Linked DNA regions of Homo sapiens: all the other regions are linked to region 2. Evidence: promoter capture Hi-C in 16 types of primary human blood cells and fetal thymus (Javierre and others, 2016). All regions are on one chromosome and are shown on one strand. Each heading gives the region's core, a stretch centred on a gene start or on the middle of the fragment in contact. The rest is flanking DNA. Distances are from core to core; before and after follow the strand shown. Region 1 overlaps PARVB (parvin beta). Region 2 holds the start of PRR5 (proline rich 5). Region 3 overlaps EFCAB6 (EF-hand calcium binding domain 6). Region 4 has its middle 20 kb from the start of PARVB. Region 5 holds the start of PARVG (parvin gamma). Region 6 overlaps SAMM50 (SAMM50 sorting and assembly machinery component).

Region 1 (3,144 bases), core at 384-2,883, 620 kb before region 2:
ATCCAGCCTTCCATAGAGACAGTGACAGATGGAGTAGAAAGTACATCCTTTGAGTTTTTACAGGAGACACTGCAGTAGAGAGAATGGTAGAGTCCCGAAACCCTGATTCATTCATTCATGAATTCACCGAGTGTTCACGGAGCACCTGCCTCAGTCCAGGCGTCATGTTGGGAGCAGGGGAGACAGAGCAGGCCATGCATCTGTCCTTTCAGAGCACTGTAGACGCAAATCCTGTAGCACAGATGTGCCTTAGACTAATAGTGCCTCGAAAGGAGAGGAAGGGGAATGGATGCGGGGAGTGGGGAACCTGACCTGCTTTGTGGGGTCATGGAGTGACTCTCCACCTGCCGTCATCCCTCCATCCCTTGTTTGGGGCTGTTCCTCCAAAGGTGCAGTCTCCAGCAGGGGTGTGGGGACCCCTGTGGGCCGTGAAGGCCTTTCTCCTTTTCTGCTGTGGGCATTGCATCTGTTCCTGATGGGTAGAGTTGTCTGTGCCCGGTGGGGCCCAAGGCAGTGCCATGGTGGTTCTTTGAGTATCTCAGGTGGGAACTGAGCTGCCAGCACCAGAGGCCAATGGCTTCCAGCACTCCCCAAATCCACCTGCTTTTGGAAGGGGCCTGTCTCCGAAGCAGGCCGGGTCCTCCTGTTGGGGGAAGCTTTCATGGAGGCATCTGTGTCACTTCTGCAGGGGAGACAGCCGCTAGAGGGCACTGTCCTTCTGGCCTTTCCCACATCCCCGTTTCCATGGCAGGTGCATAGTAAAGCCTTTCTTTTTCTAACGACTTAATGATTTAATCTTCTTATTTTCTCAGCAGACAACGCTTTGGACTTCCCTGGATACATTGGGACGTTACCAGTCACATTAATTAATACGAGTTTCACAACTTGGGAACCAGCGAACGTGCTTCTCCAGACTTAGCTTCTGCACGGCCGTTTCTGCTTTCCTTTATGAAGTGCGTTTCTCTAAGAGCCTGGCAGTCTCATGGGGCTCGTCTGTTGCTGGAAGTGAGCAGCGGGTTCCATTGCCCCCCGCCTCGGTGGGGCTCATTGTGCAGCTTGCTGGCAAGTGGCTGGGCTCGGAGGGGCGGTGACGGTGACACACGCCAGGGGAAAGGTTGGCATCCTCTTCTGAGAATTGTTTCTTTTGGGTTTCACACCCTGCCCCCACCTTCTGCTGCCTCGAGGCTCTTTTCTTCTTATTATTAGCTAATGACAGATTTCATGACCAGTGACTGAAATCATTTGGAAGTACCCCCTGAAAGCCAGCGTGATGGGTTGGAGAAATGTGACAGACGCAGCCTCTGAAAATCACAGAGGCAGAGGCTTGCGTCGAAGGACTTGCTAAGGAATTAGGATGAGAGTGGTCAGGAGGCAGTGGCTGCTGGGCACTGGAGCTGAGGGTGAGGGGCCGAGAAAACGGGAGGCAAATGGGGTAGCTCTTTTTTGGGGCGGGGGAGGCTGGCTTTGGGGATGTGTATCCCACTGTGCACCGCAAGGTGGGGGCACTGGGCGGTAGGTTCCCGTGCTCCGGAAGGGTGGCAATTGAAGGGAGGAATTAAAGAAGTTGGCCAGGTGCGGTGGTTCGTGCCTGTAATCCCAGCACTTTGGGAGGCCGAGGCAGGTGGATCACTTGAAATCAGGAGTTCGAGATCCACCTGGCCAACATAGTGAAACCTCATCTGTACTAAAAATACAAAAATTAGCTGGGTGTGGTGGTGCACACTTGTAATCCCAGCTACTCAGGAGGCTGAGGCAGGAGAATCGCTTGAATCTGGGAGGTGGAGGTTGCAGTGAGCCAAGATCGAGCCACTGCACTCCAGCCTGGGCGACAGAGCAAGAGTCCGTCTCAAAAACAAAAACAAAAACAAAAAACAAAAAACAAAAACTGACTCATGTGGCTTTCAGTCTGAGAAACCAATCAGATCATCATTGTCTCTAAAGAATGTGTCCTCCTTTGTAGACAAGAAGCTCACCGGCCCCTCCATGCCCCGGTTTCTCGCCCAGGTGGGTTAGACGGCCAACCTGACATTTTACCGTGCACCTGGAAGTCTTTCTTCCTGTTCTCCTTCCCACAAAGGATTCATTTTTCTGTGGTTCTAACATTTTCCTGATCACCCCAGGGACAAAGGGGAAGAAAAGACCGTGTTTCTGGGCCAAGGGAATCATCTGTTTAACATGGGCTTCGGAGCTTTTTTTACATTTCTATGTAAGCAACTTTTCGTATTCAGAAGACCCAGTTTCCCTGAGCCAGATGGACTCCTTCCATCTCGGGGTGGTCTGTATTTCAGATTCCTGCAGCAGGTGGCTGGTCGGAATGCACACCCCAGGAGGTGAGGCTGGGGGGATGTTGGCTCCTGGGCTGCTTGTACTAGCAAGTCCCTAATTGCGGAGCGGACTCCTTCCTCCTGAGCCCATCAGCCTCTACGTGGCCACATCAGGGTAATTGGGTTCCTTGTGAAACACGACTGCCAGGCTAATGTAAACCTTAATGGAAACCCTCTTTTTCCACCCAATTAAGTGGCTGGAGGTGGGATGCTGTGTGAGAGCCGTCAGTTCAGTTCCCTGACTTTCTCTTGTAGAAATTATCTATGTAGCTCCATTTGGCCTACATAAGCTTAGCATTTGTGTTCATTCATTCATTCATTCCACAGATATTCAGAGAGCAGTTATCCATGTGCTGGGTTTTATGCAGGATGTGAGGCCATGGTCATGAATGGGACCTGGCCCCTGTGCACTCCTTGCGGGGTCGGGGGGTGCAGGGAGATGAGCACAGTCCACAATCACATGATCGGGGAATAGGGTTTGTCATTGTCATGTGCACGGGGAGCTGTGGAAACCCAGAGGAGGGGCCCGAACTGCACCCAGGGATAGAGGATGTGCAGAGTGTGCTTTCCAGACGGTGGGAAATGGGTGGAGCTAGCTGACCTGAAGTGAAGGGCATTGCAGGTTGTGGGGACAGTCGAGCAGAGGGGCAGAGATATGACCTACAGAAGTGGCCTGGAATGGCCTCATCAGACGATGAGTGTGGAAGCATGGTAACTGCAGCTGTATTGATGAGAGGAGGGGTCTGCTCATTAACAGTCATCGGGTACCACTATGAAGGTTTTGCGTTTTACCCTGGAGCTGGTGGGAGCCATGGGGTGC
Region 2 (3,237 bases), core at 344-2,843:
GAGACTCTGTCTCAAAAAGAAAAGAAAACGTGTACAGCACTTGACAGTTAGTTTATAAAGCACCTGTTGCTGCCTGTGGGCCCCAAGCTGCCTGTGAGATGAACCGTTCCATCCCGCTTTACTGATGAGCAAGTTTGTCTGTTTATGTCTCTGTCTCCCAAAGACGATGGTATTTATGTCTGGAACACAGGAGGTACTCAGGAGACACTGGTTGATTTGCACTAAACAAAGACTCTTCATGAGGCTCTCTTACTTTTTATTTTATTTTATTATGATGATGATGATTTTTGAGACGGAGTTTTGCTGTTGTTGCCCAGGCTGGAGTGCAGTGGCGAGATCTCAGCTCTCTGCAACCTCTGCCTCCCAGGTTCAAGCGATTCTCCTGTCTCAGCCTCCTGAGTAGCTGGGATTACGGGCATGCACCACCACGCCCAGCTAATTTTGTATTTTTAATAGAGATGGGGTTTCTCCATGTTGGCCGGGCTGGTCTTGAACTCCTGACCTCAGGTGATCCTCCCACCTCGGCCTCCCAAAGTGCTGGGATTACAGGCATGAGCCATCACCTCTCTCTTACATTTTATATGGGGCCCTCCCAGCTCCTGGAGCTGTGGCTGTCACCCCCCATCTGATGGAGGGGTCAGGTGAGCCTTGTGGGAATCCCAGAAGCTGGGGACTGGGAAGGGCCCTGTTCAAGGGGCTGGACGCTCCCTGTGGTGAAGCCCAACTCTACCATTTGTTGATTGCACAATGTTGGCACAATGTTGGGCAAGTTATTTCACTCTGTGAGCCTCAATGTCCTCAACTGGAAAATGGGGAGAAGAATAATCTCTACCTCACGGAAGTAGTTCATGTTAGTTCATGTGAAATCAGACATCTAAAAGTGCTCTGCGAAGCAGGCAGGAAGCACCGGCTGTGCCCTGCCTTCACTGGGATCACTCTGCCCCCACCACAGGGACTTGGGAAACTGCTTGGTTTTACCATCCAAGAGACCTGGGGGTGGGAGATAAGGAGCAAACCCTCTACTTCTTCAAGCCCTCACTCCAGCAAATCCTCCAGGCAGCCAGGCAATGCTGAAGTCCCTGTCCAAGGGGGTCTAGGCTGAGCCCGGGTGGAGTGGGTTCTTGGGCCAAGGTGCCTGGAGGGGACTGAAGGCCTCTACCCAAAGTCCTCATGAGAACTGGGTGGGGGAGCCTGTGTTCAGGTGAGGGGTACGGAGGCACCTCTGTGGCACAGCCTTTGCGAGGAGGGCTGTGGAGGGAGACCTCCGGGGCCGGGGTCGAAGGACATCGTGTGGGCGCGACCGCAGTGCTGGGCGGGGGGCGGGCGCTTGGGCTTGGGCCCTGCGTCCTGTGCGTGTTGGTTTCCTGTGGGCACGTGGGGCCCTCGGAAGAGGGGAGGAGGGTGAGCACGTCCTCAGAGGGCAGACCCAGCGAGGCGTCGTGGCAGCTGCGGCCGCGGAGACGCCGGCTCCGCCTCTTGCACACGCCCCCTCGCCTGAGGCCCCGCCCCGCCCGCGATGCCCCCGCCCCCTTCCCCGCCCCGCCCCCCGGGGCGCCGAGACCCGCCCCTGGGCCCGCCCCCGGGTCCGCCCCCGGCCTCCGTTTGCGCCGGGTCTGTGCTGGCCGCGCGCCTGGCGCTCCACGCTGAGCCTCTCCGTGCAATGATTAACCCGGCGGGGCGGCCGGCGCGGGACCCGAGACGGAGGCGCGGGGCCGGGGCGGGACCCCGCAGGACCGCTCGGCTTCCTGCTCTCGCCGGAGTTTCCGCGTAGAGGGCGCATCGCCGGCCCGGGGCCCTTGGTGCGGCGTGGCGCAGGGCGCGGCGTGGGGCGCGCGTGGGCGCGGCGCAGGCGGCCCGGGTCACCATGAGGACTCTCCGCAGGTTGAAGTTCATGAGTTCGCCCAGCCTCAGTGACCTGGGCAAGAGAGAGCCGGCCGCCGCCGCGGACGAGCGGGGCACGCAGCAGCGCCGGGCCTGCGCCAACGCCACCTGGAACAGGTAAGGCCGCGCCCTCCCGGCCACCCGGAGGCCCTGGAGCCGGGGGAGGGGACCCCTGAGCCGTCCGCGGGCTAGGGGCCGCCCCGAGCCAGGAACGCTGCCGAAGGCGGCGCGGCGCTTCACAGTTTGCAAAGAACTTGCCCCGCCGGAGTGGTGCGGGCCTGGAGGAAAGTTCAGTGCAGCGTGGTTCCAGAACCCAGGGAAGGGAGCGAGGCCCGCCAGCGCCCGGGGCTGGCCCAGAAGCGCCCGGCGGGTGGGCGGCGGGGTGGGCCGGGAAGCCGCGTGCCCGCCTCCTACCCGGGGTCTTTCCACGTCTCCACTGCGGTGCTCGTGACAACCTGGGAGGCTAACGGAGCAGGAAGTATTTTTCCCATTTTGCGGCTGAGCACGGGAGCCTCGGGGCTCAGTGGGTGGGTCGCGCAGGCTTCCTGTGTCTCTTTAAGCTCCCTTCGGCTTTCCCTTGAGAGGCCCCCTGTCCTCCAGCTGTCAGCAGGGGGTGCGGCAGCTGCGAGGCATTCTTTAGAGGACTCTCCTCCAGGGGTCATTCCCAGACAAGCAGGGGCCTGGGAAGCCCCTTCTCCCAGCTTTGTTTGAGGAGCAAGTCCGGGATCTGGAAAAGAGACGGTTTATTTAGTGGAACTCCCCAGCGTCTCTGCTCCCTAGGAAAATGAGAGGCAGGAGAAAGTGAGGCAGGCTGTTCGCGGGAGGCAGTGGACACTGTTCGGGGGAGGCTGTGGACACTGTTCGGGGGAGGCTGTGGACGTTGCCCCTCTCGCGCCCACACCTGGCAGTAAAATCTTGCCAGATGCTCCACCGGCTGTGGTCTTGGCCACCGGGAACCCGGCTGTCACTTGGACACACGTTATTTTCAGTTCATTGAATGCATTGTGAGCGTCATGGTGGGCTCAGGGCTGCCAGCGAGACCCTCTTCAAACGTGGTCTCTTCTGTCTCTGAGTTGCAAACTGCTAGAGGGCTGTCACATGCCTGCCTCCGTTTCCCTCTCCGTCAGTGGGTATTCGCATTCCTCCCTGTGGGGAGGGCTGGTGTGGGAACAGTGAAGGAAGGACTCCTGTTGGGAAATCTCCCTGACCCAACGACTGCACAGTGTCTTAAGAGCTGTGTTCTCCACCAGGCACGGCGGCTCACACCTGTAATCCTAGCACTTTGGGAGGCCAAGATGGGAGGATTACTTGAGCCAGGGAAGTCGAGGCTGCCATGAGCCATGATGCCACCACTGC
Region 3 (3,557 bases), core at 584-3,083, 890 kb before region 2:
AGTTCTAATATTCTCCCATCTGTTCCTCTAGTCCTACCTCAATTTTCACTTTGATTCTCTGCTTCCAGACCTTTATGTTGGCCCCTGCTAGACAATAAGTCCCTCCAGTGGACTCCACTTACCTTTTTACACTCAACATGGCATAGCATGCAGTAAGCACCCCATTAAACTTTGCTCTTGATGGACCACAGTTATCAACACTATGACTGCAAGGGATAGAAGCTTAGGCTAATTTTACCCTTGATTTTGAAAGCTAAACAAGGTTCTGAGTATGACCAAGGCACTGTGAGGAGTTCTGTAGCTCACCCCTGACTTTACACCATCCTCAGCTGAGGTTTTCAAAATAAAGAGAATTTTGAGACATTAATGAATGTGATTACTTCAGAACTTGGTGAGGTAGAAATTGGCAAGGATCATAAAAACTAATACCCCCAAAATAAGCATCAAGTCACAGACCATCAAATACACTTCTTAACCAATGGGAAAAACACAATTAGAAGGCTATCTCACTGATATATTTGTTTATTTGCCAGAGAAGTATTGATGTCCAGTTTTAAACACGTGCTATTTATATCAGAATCATAACAAAAGTGCCATCCATCTGCCTTGGCATCCAGAGAAAACATAATTCAACACAAGAGTAAAAAGTGTGCACAGCCAAATAGAAATGGCACCAGAAGCAAAAATTGCTGGAACTGTATCATGGAGAGGGGTGTGGAAATTATCACTCGACTAAATTGGAAAAAATTGTAAGCAACACAAAAGGTTTTGGCAGTTAAATCCAAACACTTGAGAAAAATCTTCTTGTCTATACTGATATCAAATGGACTGTTATATTTTGGGACATATCAACTATCAAGTTCCCTTTATAGCCTTCCACACACTTCCATATACACATTGGCCATTTACTGAGCATCTACATTCTTGGACGGTGGAAAAATCAAAACCTTTGACGTCAAGCAGGCATAGGGTCAAACTGGCTCCACCATCCACCACAACAACTTGCAAGTTAATTAACCTCCTCCTGACTCAGTTTCCTCATTTGAAAAAGGGAGATACAGTTGTCGTCCATATCCATGGGTTCCACATCCACAGATTCAACAGTGGATTGAAAATATTCAGGAAAAATATGGATGTTGATGTCTGTACTGAATATGTATGGACTTTTTTCCTTGTCTCAATGATATGGTATAACGATTTCCATAGCATTTACATTGTATTAGGTATTGTAAGTAATCTAGAGATAATTTAAAGCATATGGGAGGATTATGTAGGTTATATGCAAATACTACACCATTTTATATAAGGGAATTGAACATCCATGAATCTAGGTATCTTCGAGTGGGTGCTGAAACGAATCTCCCACAGATACTGAGGGACCACTGGAATATCTCTCCTTTAAGCAAGTATTCTTAACATGGAATCGCGGTCCATGTGTGTGCTTTTATAGCCCTACAGACTTACTGACATGCAAAACTGTGTGTGAGATGATTTTTCTAGAGCACTTCTCAAAAGGCAGGTGACCCCAAAATGGTAAATGCCACTGCTCCAAAGGTGTAGATGGATCACAGGTGATATTCGTGAAGTGCCTGGCACACAGTGAACTTTAGCTATTTGGTAGCTGTTATTTTTAGGTCCCGAGGATATACAGAAAGATAAATCAGACAGAGCATTGGGCAAAAACAAAAACAAAAACAAAAACAAAAAACAGCTATATGGTTATAGGTGTCACCTCAGAATATCAGAATAAAATAACAGAGAAAAAACAAAAAGTGAGTCCAGAAAAAAACCCAGCAGGAAGAACTGGCAGGATGGAAACACCAGGAGTGCCAAGGCAGTGAGATGACCACTGCCTGGGGATCCCCAATGCTTAGGCAGGGGTTGGCATATGGCAGATGCTCAATGAATAGTTGCTAAGTAAATGAGCAAACAAATGACTGAAACCAACCCAGGATGCAGGATAACACCATTTACAACGTCCCAGGGGAAAAACTACATTCAGAAGGTGTTATCGAAAACTTACTATTCAGAAATCTTCAATCTCAAATATTCAGTTCAAATGCTAAAGTCCACATTCTCTCCCTGAAGAGTGAGGACATTAAGCCCACACTTTTGTCATTGGGCAGTAATCTAGGCCCTTCCAATCCTCTGCGATGAGCCCTGTGAGAAATTTATTTTAGAAACAGGTTAGACCTATTTTTCCAGATGAATCAAAAGGCCTTATTTCCCTGGAAAAAAAAATAAATTTTATTACCTTCTATTTTTTTACTTTTATTTTTCCATGAGTTGACAAGAAGCTCCCAGCTAAATTTCCAGCCCAACTTTATTAACCGTTATAGATGATCTGAGTATTCCTTCTTTCTGATACCTTCCTATTCTGTCTATATTTTTAATGATTCTGATTTACATGTTTCTATTTTATCACATTGTAGTTATTCTTACAAGTCATCTCAAAGCCTTGGCAGGACTTGTAGAGTATATAAGTGTTTGAGAGTGATAGCATACTCATCAAGAACACAGGTTATTATCAGGCAGTCCTGGAGTTGGAGCCATACTCACTACCATTTATCAGCTTTGTTAAGTCCCTTAACCTCTCTGTGTCCCTGTTGCCTTTTGTTTTGTTTTTTTGTTTGGTTTTGGTTTTGTCTGTTTTGAGATGGAGTTTTACTCTTGTTGCCTAGGCTGGAGTGCAATGGTGTGACCTCGGCTCACTGCAACCTCCACCTCCCAGGTTCAAGAGATTCTCCTGCCTCAGCTTCTGGAGTAGCTGGGATTACAGGTGCCTGCCACCATGCCTGGCTAATTTTTTGTATTAGTAGAGATAGGGTCTCACCACGTTGGCCAGACTGGTCTCGAACTCCTGACCTCAGGTGATCCAACCGCCTCGGCCTCCCAAAGTGCTGGGATTACAGGCATGAGCCACCGCGCACAGCCTGTTTTGTTTTTTGAGACAGGGTCTCATTCTGTCGCCCAGGCTGGAGTACAGTGGCATTATCATGGCTCACTGCAACCTAAAACTCTTGGGTTCAAGTGATCCTCCCATCTCGGCCTCCTGAGTAGCTGGAAGTACAGGCACATGCCACCATAGATATGGGGGGGGTCTGACTTTGTTGCCTGGGCTGGTCTCGAACTCCTGGCCTCAAGCGATCCTCCTGCCTCAGCCTCCCAAAGTGGTAGGATTACAGGCATAAGCCACCACACCCAACTTGTACTTTTCCATAGCCAACTTGTGAGGACTAAATTTAAAAAGTATGAGGGACCAAACTGTGCTTGGCACACAGTAAGTGTTCAATTAGTATTAGCCAGTAGTAGTATTAGTAGTTGCTGTAGTAGAAATAGAAGTAGTAAAACTGTGGACAAATAGATGGAAAGAAAAAGTAACAAATGGTACCTGAAACAAAGTAAACAAAATAGCAGTGAAAGATCAAAACCAAAAGTAGAAAATGAAGCTTTTAATACTGAAAGGGTATCATATTCATGTTATCTCTATTCACAGTTTTCTCAAACCTGTCTCAGTTGTTAACAACTGCCTTGTTAACAACCAGTGGCCTCTCACC
Region 4 (3,351 bases), core at 364-2,863, 700 kb before region 2:
TGGGGTGGGTAAGAACCTGCCAATCCCAGTGGGTTCTAGTAGGAGGGATGTCTTTCCTGCGTGGCTGTACACAGGAGAACACTGTAAAGAGCAAGGACTGGCATTAAATTCTGCATTAAACGTGAGGCCTGTTTTTACATTTACACATACAGATTTCAGTTTGCGTAGTGAACCGTGGGAGGCTGTCTCAGTCGTGCCTTCCTGGGGTCAAACCAGTTGGCCTGTTTTCAAGAATGAAAAATGCTTTGCCCGAAAGTGGGGCGAATGGTAATCACAGACACACACGTCTCGGTGCCAGAGTTGTAGCTTTATACATAGTGCCTTCCTGACAAGTAAATTACTGGATTCCTTTGCCAAATCATTAGATAACTTTTAAGAGCAACAAACATTCATGCAAAAGGAGATTCAGCATTATCTTGTTAGAAAAATAGTCATGATTTTTGAAAAGCAAGGACATTCTGTGAAGTTTGACCAACTGTGAAAATTACAGCCTTTCTTCCCCGTACTTCCCCCGTGCTTTTCAATCAATCAGTTTCTAATGGATGAAGCATTCCCTACATTTGTCACTAGATGGATGTGCCGGTCAATTAAAATATTCTGACTTCGCAGGGTTGAGATAATAGCCAGCCTGGATCCATCCGTTACTGTGAAATAGAAGGTGACCTTCCTGTATTGAGTCAGAGACCCAAATACAATTGCTTTGATCTTATTATCATAGCCAGAAATTACCGTTCATCTAAACGTAATTTCCCTGAAATACTGAGCGGGCAGAGCTACTGCTGGAAATACCAGAACATCATAAAGAGACTGTGATGTGGCCTTGGGGATGAAAGGTGACATCTTGACTTGACATCCATTCCACCTGACTGCAGAAATCAAGTGGAATGGAATTTCCTGGGATGTTCTGTATCTAGTAAAGGCTAAGTAGGATTCATCACCAAACCTTAACCCAGAGAGATTAAGCCCTGTTATAATGTGCTGCGGCAGCCACGCCAGGACTGGACTCCCTGGAATCTGACCCTTTCTTTCCATTCCCACACTCCCAGGCCAGGGTCCTAGCCTTTCCTGTCTGTCTGAAAACTGCTCTTCCAGGGGTGGGGAGCAGGAAACCTTGTGTTGGGGTGGAAAGAGCCTGTGTTTAGGAGTTGGAGCTGGCTTTGGATTCTCACTTCCTTTGTTCGCTTATTCGTTCCTCCAACATGGACATTGGGCCAGGTGCAGGGTGTTGTACAGGTGGCTCTTCTGGCAACTGCCGTCAGGTTTACCCTCCTCTTTAGCCCCAGAGGTCCCACAGCCTCCTGTGTCTGCCCATCCCTTACCTCCGATGTCCCCTTCCCTGAAGTTGTTCCAAATGACCTGTAGTTGCCGCTGCTGGGCCTGGCTTCTGCAGGGCTGGCCACTCCCCTTCTCCAGGGAGCCCCTAGTTCTGTTTGGAGAACTTTGCCAGGTGCTGGCCCTTCCCCACTCTTGGGATGGAAGCCTCTAGAACAGGATGGAGAGGGGTGTATCCATCTGCATGTCATTCTCTGGTCAGAGAAAATAAGTTCCACCTTTTCTGAGCTTGAGTGAGAAAAAAACAATCAAACTAGATGTTTGCCAAAGACATCACAGCAGACACGAAGTAGCAGAGCCATGGGCACAGAAAAGGGAGCCTGGGTACCCCCTGCTGGCAGAGGTGCTGGGGCAGGAGCAGGCGCTCCAGGTCGCGCGCGAAGTCAGTGAGGACCCTTTTGAGCTCCCCGCAACTGAAGAAGGAATTAATAAAATCAACTATAACCTAACAGTAGTAGTAATAGAAATTTTAAAATCCTCTCAAAGTTGCTGCAAAGTGTGACCCCCCCCTTACTCTCAAGTTAAAAGAGAATATTAACAGTCTGTCTTCTCTCTGTGGACAGTGGACCTTATCTATACTCCCCAACTCCACATTCCTCAAAGTTTGTTACAGGCCCAGCGAGTTCCTGCTTACCTCCCTAGCATGGCTGCAGGGTCACAAGACCAATAAGTTTAGGTGGCAAGACATGTTTCTCTCAAGATATAAGAAATGTAATGCTGTCTTTGTTTCTTGCTTCTGTAACTTGCTTCCCGCCTCACGTAGTTCCTGCCTTAAGATGTTTACAAGTAGAAAAAGCCCTTTGTTCGGGGCTCAAACTTTCTGGACCTATGTCCGGCTGAGCTGGTGATCACCTTAATTTAATAAACTCTCCTGAACCTTTTCCGTCTCTCCAGTCTTTGATTGTCCTGCAACACAACGTCCGGTTTGTGAGCATGCACTGCTTTTGTCTTCTGGGCTAAGCCAGAACAGGCAATAGGGTTAAGCACCTGAAGTACATTTTAAGGAGAATTAGGAGCCATTGTTCCAAAAAGATTCTAAAAATGGATGATTGATTTAAAAGGTTCTCAGGGACAGTGCTGTGTACTCAACAGACTCCTGACCGACCTGCTTATGAGCCTTGAAAACAGAAAATCTTTATTTTGCAATAAAGGTGGGAAAAATACAACAGCTCTTTAAAAATCAATGATTAAAAAAATTTTATAGTTTTATTTATTTATTTTTGAGAGAGGGTTTCACTCTGTCACCCAGGCTGGAGTGCAGTGGCACAATCACGGCTCACTGCAGCTTCAACCTCTTGGACTTAAGCAATCATCCTGCTTCAGCCTCCCAAGTAACTGAGACTATAGGCGTGTGCCACCGTGCCCAGCTAATTTTTTCTATTTTTTTTTTTTTTTTCTGTAGAGACAGGGTGTTGCTATATTGCCTAGGCTGGTGTCAAACTCCTGGGCTCAAGCAGTCCTCCTGCCTTGAACTCCCAAAGTGCTGAGATTACATGTATGAGGTACCACGCCTGGCCGTTTTTTTTTTTTTCTTTTTACACAAATAATAGCATACTGTAGTTCCTGTTACATGCTTTTCTCTTTCTTTTCTTTAATTTTTTCAGAGACAAGGTCTTGCTCTGTCACCTAGGCTGGAGTGCAGTGGTGCTGAGGCAGGAGAATGGGTTCTGGAGGCAGGGTACCTAAGGCTGATTTGCACTGATTTCCTAGAGCTGAATCAAAAGGAAAACCCCACCTCTCCACACCCAAGTAACGAAAGGATCAGAGGCTACTCAACCCTCCCACCTTTCCACTGCATGGCAGATGAAAAATGGGAAGTTCCTCTGATTGGTCCCCTCCCACAACCAATCAGACTGGTCGCAGGCCACTTCTTCATTTACATCGGTTGTAATCAAGTAACAACCTAGAGGGTATTTAAACCCCAGACAATTCTGTAACCAGGGCTCTCAGCCACTGCTAGAGCCTGCTCCCACTTTGAGGAGTGTACTTCTGTTTCAATATATCTGTGCTTCCGTTGCT
Region 5 (3,530 bases), core at 1,031-3,530, 520 kb before region 2:
GATAGATTCTACAGGACAACTGACCTGGATGTTTAAAAAATGTTAGTGTCGTGAAAGATTGTTCTAGATTACAGGGCTCTAAAGAGACATGAAAACCAAATGCAATCACATGTGCTGTGTGATGCCTGAATGGATCTTGGATTAAAAAAAATACAGCTGTAATAGACATTTTTTGAAGCCTTGGTGAAGTTTGAATGTGGATGAGATATTAGAAAACCTTCTATCAATGCTAATTTTCTTAGGTATCATAATGGTACTGTGTTATGCAGGAGAATGTTTTTAGGAGAAACATTCTGAAGTATTTAGAGATATCCCTAAAGTGATGTGATCCCTGCAATTTATTTATTTTTTATTAATTTTTAAAAATTTTAGTTGTGGTTAAAAATACACGTAACATAAAATGTACTGTCTTAACTATTTTTAAGTATACAGTTCAGTAGTGTTTGGCATATTTGCACAGGTATATTTCACACCGTGTCTCTGAAAAAAAAAAAGGCTGGAATAATTCCCTTCTATCCATGCCTTTCTCTTAATTGGGGTTTGGGGGTGCTTGGACTTATCTCCATGTTACTCTTCCAATTCTTAGAGTCCCTCTCTTCCCCTAAACAATGCTCTACACACAAGAGGCTTTGTGAGTTGTGGATTTAGTCTGTTGTAACTCCACACCATACAGGATTAGATTTCGCATCTGATTCTTACATCAGCCCTGCAGCCCCAAGAGATGAGAGATAGCTTTGAGGGCTATCAGAGAACTCCCTGTATTCTGCACATACCTTGAGCTGAGAATGTAAAGCCCTGGGACTGTCCTTTTCTTGCTTTAAACTCTTTGGTGTGATGATAACAAGCTCACCCCACAGTCCTTAGATAACCTGTGCTCGTATTGCGTATGGAAGCCACAACTCTGCCAAAGCCACAATTTAATAGGTACTTCGTTCTGAGTGATGACAGGTAATTATTTTGCCATCACAGGCTACGATCTATTAGAACTCCATTCTCTAACAGTTACTAGGTCCCCACTGCCTTTAAATCAACCAGAACAAGTAACCAATCCCAGTTCCCATCCTGGAGGTCGTGTTGCCTGCAATTGTTTCTGGTAACAAATCCGAAGTTAATTGGGATTCAGTTGCCGATGATTAGAGTCTCTTCAGTTGTTTGGAGGAGAAAGGAATCTAACATAGGAAGCTGTGTGATTCTCAAGCTGTTGGAAGGCTGGAGGCAGCGCCTCCAGCAAGGACTCTTGGAAGAATACTGCAGAGCTGGCTCCTGAAGGAAGCTGCCGAGTCAGGCTGGCCCTAGAAGCATGCTTTCTGGGTTGAATGCTTTAGGTTCACCTCTGCAGATCCACTCCCCACCATTTTCTCTCCTCACATCTATGGGCCGCAGCAGGGGACTTCTTTTCTCTGGCTTCTGGCTGGATGTGGGCAGGGGAGGCCCTGGCAGGAGGGAGGAGAGTGAGGCTTGGTCATTGATTCCTCCAGCTGTGCCCTTCTGCTGGTTCACCATGAGCTGGCTGTGTCCCTCTACCAAAGGCCACAGCTCCTATCCCGAGGCCCCTCTTAGAGCTTCAGTGATTCTGTTCCTGGGCTCTGCCACCCACTCCCTCCTTCACCCTCTAGGTTTTGAAGAAGTAACAGCTCCCCATGTTGCTAGCCTGGGGTGTAGCACTGTCTCTTCTGGGTTCCTTTAACCCTGCCCCAGCTGTCCCTTTATTAAACAGTCTTCAGTTAGCACATGGGAATATACCGTCTCTTTGCTGCTGGGACTGTGACTGCTGCTACATCTATGTGGCTGTGATCCAGAGTCAGAAGCCACCACCAGAACCACTGTGTCCAGAGCTGGGCTGAGCCTGCTACACACGCCCCAGCAAAATAGGTCCTGCACGGTGGCTTCTCTCCCCACCTGTTACAAGCCCCAGTCTAGCACGGGCACTTCAGAATGGCAGGGACTGACTCATGTGCCTCAGTGTCTTCCTCTGTAATATGGGGGTGATGATTGTACCTACCTCACAAGGAAGTTTCCAGTAAAATGAAAGCCCTTAAAATTATGTTTGTTTCATCACCAATGACTCCATAAATATTAGCAACAATACCAGTACTAAGTTTTGTCATTTTTTATTAACTTCTTGTAAACGACCCTACTTTCCTGCTCTCACACACTCCTTACACCTGCATCCCACCTGATTTAGCCACTTTCTGCCTAACCTGTCAGAAAGGGTAGATAGCTTCCCAGTCACCTGTTGCTAGGGAAACTCACCATTTCAGCCCGGATGGTGAAGATTCCAGCTTGAGAGACCAGCTCGGGTCTGAAGTGTTTCTCTATCTACTGTGCTGAGATCTCTCCTTCTCGAACCCTGCTATGCCTTTGCATACGCTGTTTTCTCCACCTGCCACGTTCTCACCCCTTCTTCTTCCACTGCAAACTCCTATGCAGCCGTCAAGGCCCCATTCTCCTCTGGAAAGCCTTCCCGATCCCCTTGGCAACAACCACCACCAATATTTATTCACTGAGCCCACTTTGTGCCAAGCATTGTTCTAGACACGGGTATGTAACCGCGATTGAGAGAGACAGACCACGCACAGCCTGGATTTTATTTTAAGAGCTATTGGGTGCCGTTGGTGGGTTTGAGTGAGTGGGGTCAGGAAGTGACTCACTCCTCCGAGGGCTTGTGGGAGCCTCAGCTCAGGGGCGGGCAGGGGGCGTGGGGAAGTCTGCAGCCGAGAGTCCAGGTAGGAGTCTCCTGCGTGGTCCCGGGAGAGGAAGGGGCCTGGCCCGGGGCGGGGTGTGGAGGTGGGAGGACGGCGGTGCGGGATGGAGGGTGGAGGCCAGGCTGACAGGGTGCTGGTGGTGGGTTGCGGGGGTCGACCCCAGGCTCTGGCCTATGTAGCTGCCATTTTGGAGGTGAACAGCCTGCGGGGAAACTGGCATGGTTTGGGGAAGGCGGGGAGAGGGGGAGAAATGAAAGCATTGAGTTTAAGTGGCCTGCAGAACCCCGGGGGCCCAGGCGGCACGGCGGGCGCTGGGGCTCCGGGCAGAGCTTTCTGGAGGTTTGTGGCAGCTTCACTTTCACGGCATCCACCCCCCTCGGGCCCTGCCGCAGAGAGGAGGAAGCTCCTGCCGGCTGAGCGGGCCTGGAGGAAGTGAGCAGCGGGGCTCCTGCCTCCCGGCCTGGTCCCCGAAGACCCCAGAAGAACCCGGAACTTGCTTCCATTCGGAATCCAGGGACCACCCTTTGCACTCAGTAGGCCTTTGTTTTCCTGCGTGGAAAGCGGTTGGGTGAGTTCTGGCATCGGGGCCACCATACTTGAGTGTTGGGGGTCACGGAGGGAGGGGCCCAGACACCACCTGGGAAGGATCCCAGAGTGCAGTCCCAGCCCAGGCCACCCGGGGAAGGGAGTCGGTAAAGTGGGACCTTGAGTCCCCACGGCCCCTCCGGCTGCCCCTGCTCAGAGGCTGCTCGGCGTCCTCCCTCCCTGTTCTACTGAGGAGTTGCCGCCTCTGAACTTCAGCCAACCCCTCCGTCTCCAGGTGAA
Region 6 (3,261 bases), core at 675-3,174, 720 kb before region 2:
CTTGAACTTAACTCCCTGGCTGCTCTCAGTCCTCCCCTCAGCCACCTGCCACCCACTGGGCGCTGCCCTTCCTCCTCTCAGCACTGCTCATCCGCACTGAACCAATGTCGCGTTCTGAGTCGTCTCTGCTCCTCTCCTACTCCCTGCCTTCCCCTTCCCCCCTCTACACTATGGACATATTAGTCTTTTTGAGTCGTCTTTACTCCCCTTCCACTCCCTGCCTTCCCCTTCCCCTTCTCCACACTGCAGATGTGTTAGTGTTTCTGAAACACAAGCCTTACCATATCACTTTCCTACACAAACTGCTTGTGCTGTTAGGGTGCCTGTAGCCCTTGATCCTTCATCACTGTGCCTGTCTCATGCTTCGGCTCTGTGGAAATACTTTTTGTTTCCCAGAAGGCATTGGCTCACCCTGACTTTCAGGCACTCGTATTCACTCTGTCTGCCGCTGGCTGTAACTCCCTTTTTTTCAGTTGTTTCCTTGGCCTCCCACTCCCTGCCTTTAAGACTTTGGTATAGGTGTGTCTCCTGCAAGCCTTCTTCAACCTCCTAGATGGAAGTGGGGGCTCCTCCACTGTGCCCGTAGCTCCTGTGCTTATCCTGTGGTAGTGCCCATCCATCTACCCACCCATTTACCCATCCATCCATCCATCCGTCCGTCCATCCATCCACCCATCCACCCATCCACCCACCCACCTACCCACCCACACATCCATCCATCCATCCATCCATCCATTCACCCACCCACCCACCCACCCATCCATCCACCAGTCTAACACATGTATGCTGGCTGCCAGGCACTGTCCAGGCACTAAGAATATATCAGTGAACAAAGCCCAATTCCTGCTCTCAAGGAACTTCCATTCTTGAGGAGGGAAACCTATAAGCTAGTATCTTTATATATCATTGAGGAGGCGGTGACAAGTGTTGTGAAGAAAAATAAAGCAGAATTAAGGGGTAGAAAGTGACCAGAAGGGGATGCCATCTAGTTAGGATGGTCAGGGAGGGTGGCTAGTAAGGCAACCCCCGAGCACAGCCCAGAGCACGGTGAGGGAGCAAGGGTAGGACAGCGGGACACCTCGGGCGGGAGCATGAATTCCAAGAGCAGTAGTGGCAGGAGGGCCTTGGAGGCCGGATGTGGGCTCTTGCTTCCACTCTACATGAGAGGGAAGCCCTGGAGCCTTCTGAGCAGAGTCCGGACACCTGGCTGAGAAGAAAATGCCAGCTGCTGTGGGGACAGAAGCTTGTCCTTCCTACAGAAGCTTCTGAGAAAGCCATTTCTGAGCAGCTTGGAGGGACATAGGCATTTGCAAGGCAGAGAACGTGTGAGGCTCGGCCAGCCGCCCGAAAACATGGGGTGCAGGGGAGCAGGAGAGCCTCTACCTGGTTGAGGACATTGTTGAGAAGGTTTTGTGGCATGAAGATGGGCTCACTGAGCCAAGACTGGCTACTGCCTCCTGCCCTGTAAGAGACAAGGCTCTGTCCTTGAGAGTGGGGTTGGGAGTGCGTCTCTGCATTGGGGGAGCCTTGCAGCCGGTACCTTCTTTCAGCCTAAAATGCGTGTGCCCTGAATCCTTCCACATTTTGAGGCCGCGGCAAAGAGGCCTGAGCAGGTGCAGGGGGCCTGGCTCCCTCCTCTGTGAGGCCTTGGCTCCTGCTGCTGGGCGTCACTTCCCGTTGCAGAGCAGGGGCCTGCCCTGTGTCCGAATGGAAGCCGGGCCCTGCTCGCCTTCGGTGTGTCTTGATTTGGACTTTGGAATTGCGTGTTTTAATAGAATCCACGTGGCCCTTCGAAGGGTAGCTCTGCAACGGGACAAGCCAGGCATTCTCCTGCGGCCCTTGCACCCCATCGCGGAGCTCTGCACGCCACGGGCATTCAGTGTGTGGCCAGTTGCTAGTTGCTGATGTTCCTGGAGTGAAAGGAATGCTGGGAGAAAACAACCATTTGTTTCTATTTGAACAGGTTTTTTCAGCGTCTTTCTGGGGCGGAATGTTGGTACCCATTGGTGATAAGCCGTCAAGCATTGCTGATAGGTAAGTACTAATCAATGAATGGATAATTTGCACATATTTTCCTTTGGATCTTTTCAGTTGTTTTTTATAAGATATTTTAGAGAAGTTTATTTAGGAGAGCATAGTATTTCAAATATTCCTTTAGTATTTATGTTTAAGCTAATTTCTAAATATCGGGTATACCTCACACTTAATATTTTTTGCTTTTGTTGGGGAAGTTACTTTATTATATTTAAAATGTATTGTTCCCTTTTGATTATGAAGGAATATAGTTCATACTCATTGCAGAAATGCAAAAATGGAGAAACACTTAAAGAAATTAGAGAAAGCACTCACTAAGTCATGAGAAATTCTTTATAAGCAGCATTGTAGTGGCATATGTTTCATTATTTGCATATACCATAACTTTTTAGCCTACCGTGTATTTTTTGATATTTCATTGGTTTCTAATTTGTGATTTTTGTAAATAACATTGTAAATAATAACTTTTAAGATAACTTGTTGTTTATTTTATTTTCTGTGGTATTACTCTCTCAAAGTAAAACTCATAGTATTGCTGGGTGCTGCTTTTAGGAAGCTTACAGCAATTTATACCCCTACCAGCAGGGTATGAACTTGTACTTGTTGCTTCGAAATACTAATCATTGTCCTCTAGGGCAAAAAAACTTTTTTTTCAACCCTGCATTAGTTAAAATATACTGGTACAGCTTTTTTGGATGGTGGTTTGGAAGTAGAACAATTTTAGGTTTATAAACTCTGGATCCTAACAGTTTCACAAAACTCCATGAATCTAATTTACAAAAGTACTTTTCTAAGTGTGTAAAGATTTATGTGTAGAAGGATGTCCATTGTAGCATTGCTGATGAATAGCAAAGAATTTGAAACTGCCTTATGTAAGTTCCGCAGTAGGGAAATGGTGAAATTCTAGCACAACCATTCCAGATCTATGTAATTATTAAAAATAAGGAGATATGTGTTCATAAGTTAACATTTTGCACATGAATATGTTTAGTGGATCCCTTTCCAGCGTGCATGCAGGTGTAGCACCGAGGGCCTGGGAAGCCAGCCACCAAAACAGTGACGGTGGGCACCCCAGAGCCTGGGATGCAGCAGGCAGAACCATTTCACTCGTTATGTTATATGCATCCTGGATCATTTGAATTCAAATGTGTGATTTATCGTTTCTTTTTTATTTTATTTATGTATGTTTTTTGAGACAGAGTCTTACTCTGTCACCCAGGCTGGAGT

Evidence for each region. Contacts are between HindIII fragments. The CHiCAGO score rates a contact against its expected background, and 5 or more counts as called.
Region 1: a contact is called between a fragment that was not itself captured here and the fragment with the promoter of PRR5 in region 2, in 1 of 17 cell types (naive CD8 T cells). The highest score is 5.9, in naive CD8 T cells.
Region 3: a contact is called between a fragment that was not itself captured here and the fragment with the promoter of PRR5 in region 2, in 4 of 17 cell types (naive CD4 T cells, non-activated CD4 T cells, total CD4 T cells and 1 more). The highest score is 7.3, in naive CD4 T cells.
Region 4: a fragment that was not itself captured here is called in contact with the fragment with the promoter of PRR5 in region 2 in 3 of 17 cell types (total CD8 T cells, naive CD8 T cells and naive CD4 T cells); the score reaches 7.2 in total CD8 T cells.
Region 5: a contact is called between the fragment with the promoter of PARVG here and the fragment with the promoter of PRR5 in region 2, in 2 of 17 cell types (non-activated CD4 T cells and M0 macrophages). The highest score is 5.3, in non-activated CD4 T cells.
Region 6: a fragment that was not itself captured here is called in contact with the fragment with the promoter of PRR5 in region 2 in 1 of 17 cell types (total CD4 T cells); the score reaches 5.1 in total CD4 T cells.

The regions. Positions count from the first base shown.
Region 1 is chr22:44,080,671-44,083,814 of GRCh38, forward strand. All of the region lies in intron 1 of PARVB (parvin beta), which reads left to right. Among named protein-coding and RNA genes, the nearest start is that of PARVB, 58 kb to the left of the region's middle. The HindIII fragment of the contact is 1,958 bases long and covers 655-2,612 here.
Region 2 is chr22:44,700,611-44,703,847 of GRCh38, forward strand. PRR5 (proline rich 5) reads left to right here and starts at 1,594. Exons shown (of 8, transcript NM_181333.4): 1 at 1,594-1,998. The coding sequence starts at 1,865. It overlaps PRR5-ARHGAP8 (PRR5-ARHGAP8 readthrough), which reads left to right and starts at 1,594. Exons shown (of 15, transcript NM_181334.6): 1 at 1,594-1,998. The coding sequence starts at 1,865. RefSeq lists a silencer at 1,468-1,877. The HindIII fragment of the contact is 5,837 bases long and covers 1-3,237 here.
Region 3 is chr22:43,806,972-43,810,528 of GRCh38, forward strand. It overlaps EFCAB6 (EF-hand calcium binding domain 6), which reads right to left. Exons shown (of 32, transcript NM_022785.4): 2 at 2,024-2,160. Among named protein-coding and RNA genes, the nearest start is that of EFCAB6, 3.6 kb to the right of the region's middle. The HindIII fragment of the contact is 3,227 bases long and covers 221-3,447 here.
Region 4 is chr22:44,002,564-44,005,914 of GRCh38, forward strand. It overlaps a transcript of PARVB not described here. Among named protein-coding and RNA genes, the nearest start is that of PARVB, 20 kb to the right of the region's middle. The HindIII fragment of the contact is 5,362 bases long and covers 1-3,351 here.
Region 5 is chr22:44,178,645-44,182,174 of GRCh38, forward strand. It overlaps PARVG (parvin gamma), which reads left to right and starts at 2,281. Exons shown (of 14, transcript NM_022141.7): 1 at 2,281-2,541; 2 at 3,098-3,273. RefSeq lists silencers at 1,542-1,591, 2,762-2,891 and enhancers at 2,268-2,998, 2,999-3,530. The HindIII fragment of the contact is 15,489 bases long and covers 1-3,530 here.
Region 6 is chr22:43,979,428-43,982,688 of GRCh38, forward strand. SAMM50 (SAMM50 sorting and assembly machinery component) reads left to right here. Exons shown (of 15, transcript NM_015380.5): 11 at 1,964-2,034. Among named protein-coding and RNA genes, the nearest start is that of SAMM50, 26 kb to the left of the region's middle. The HindIII fragment of the contact is 1,328 bases long and covers 1,261-2,588 here.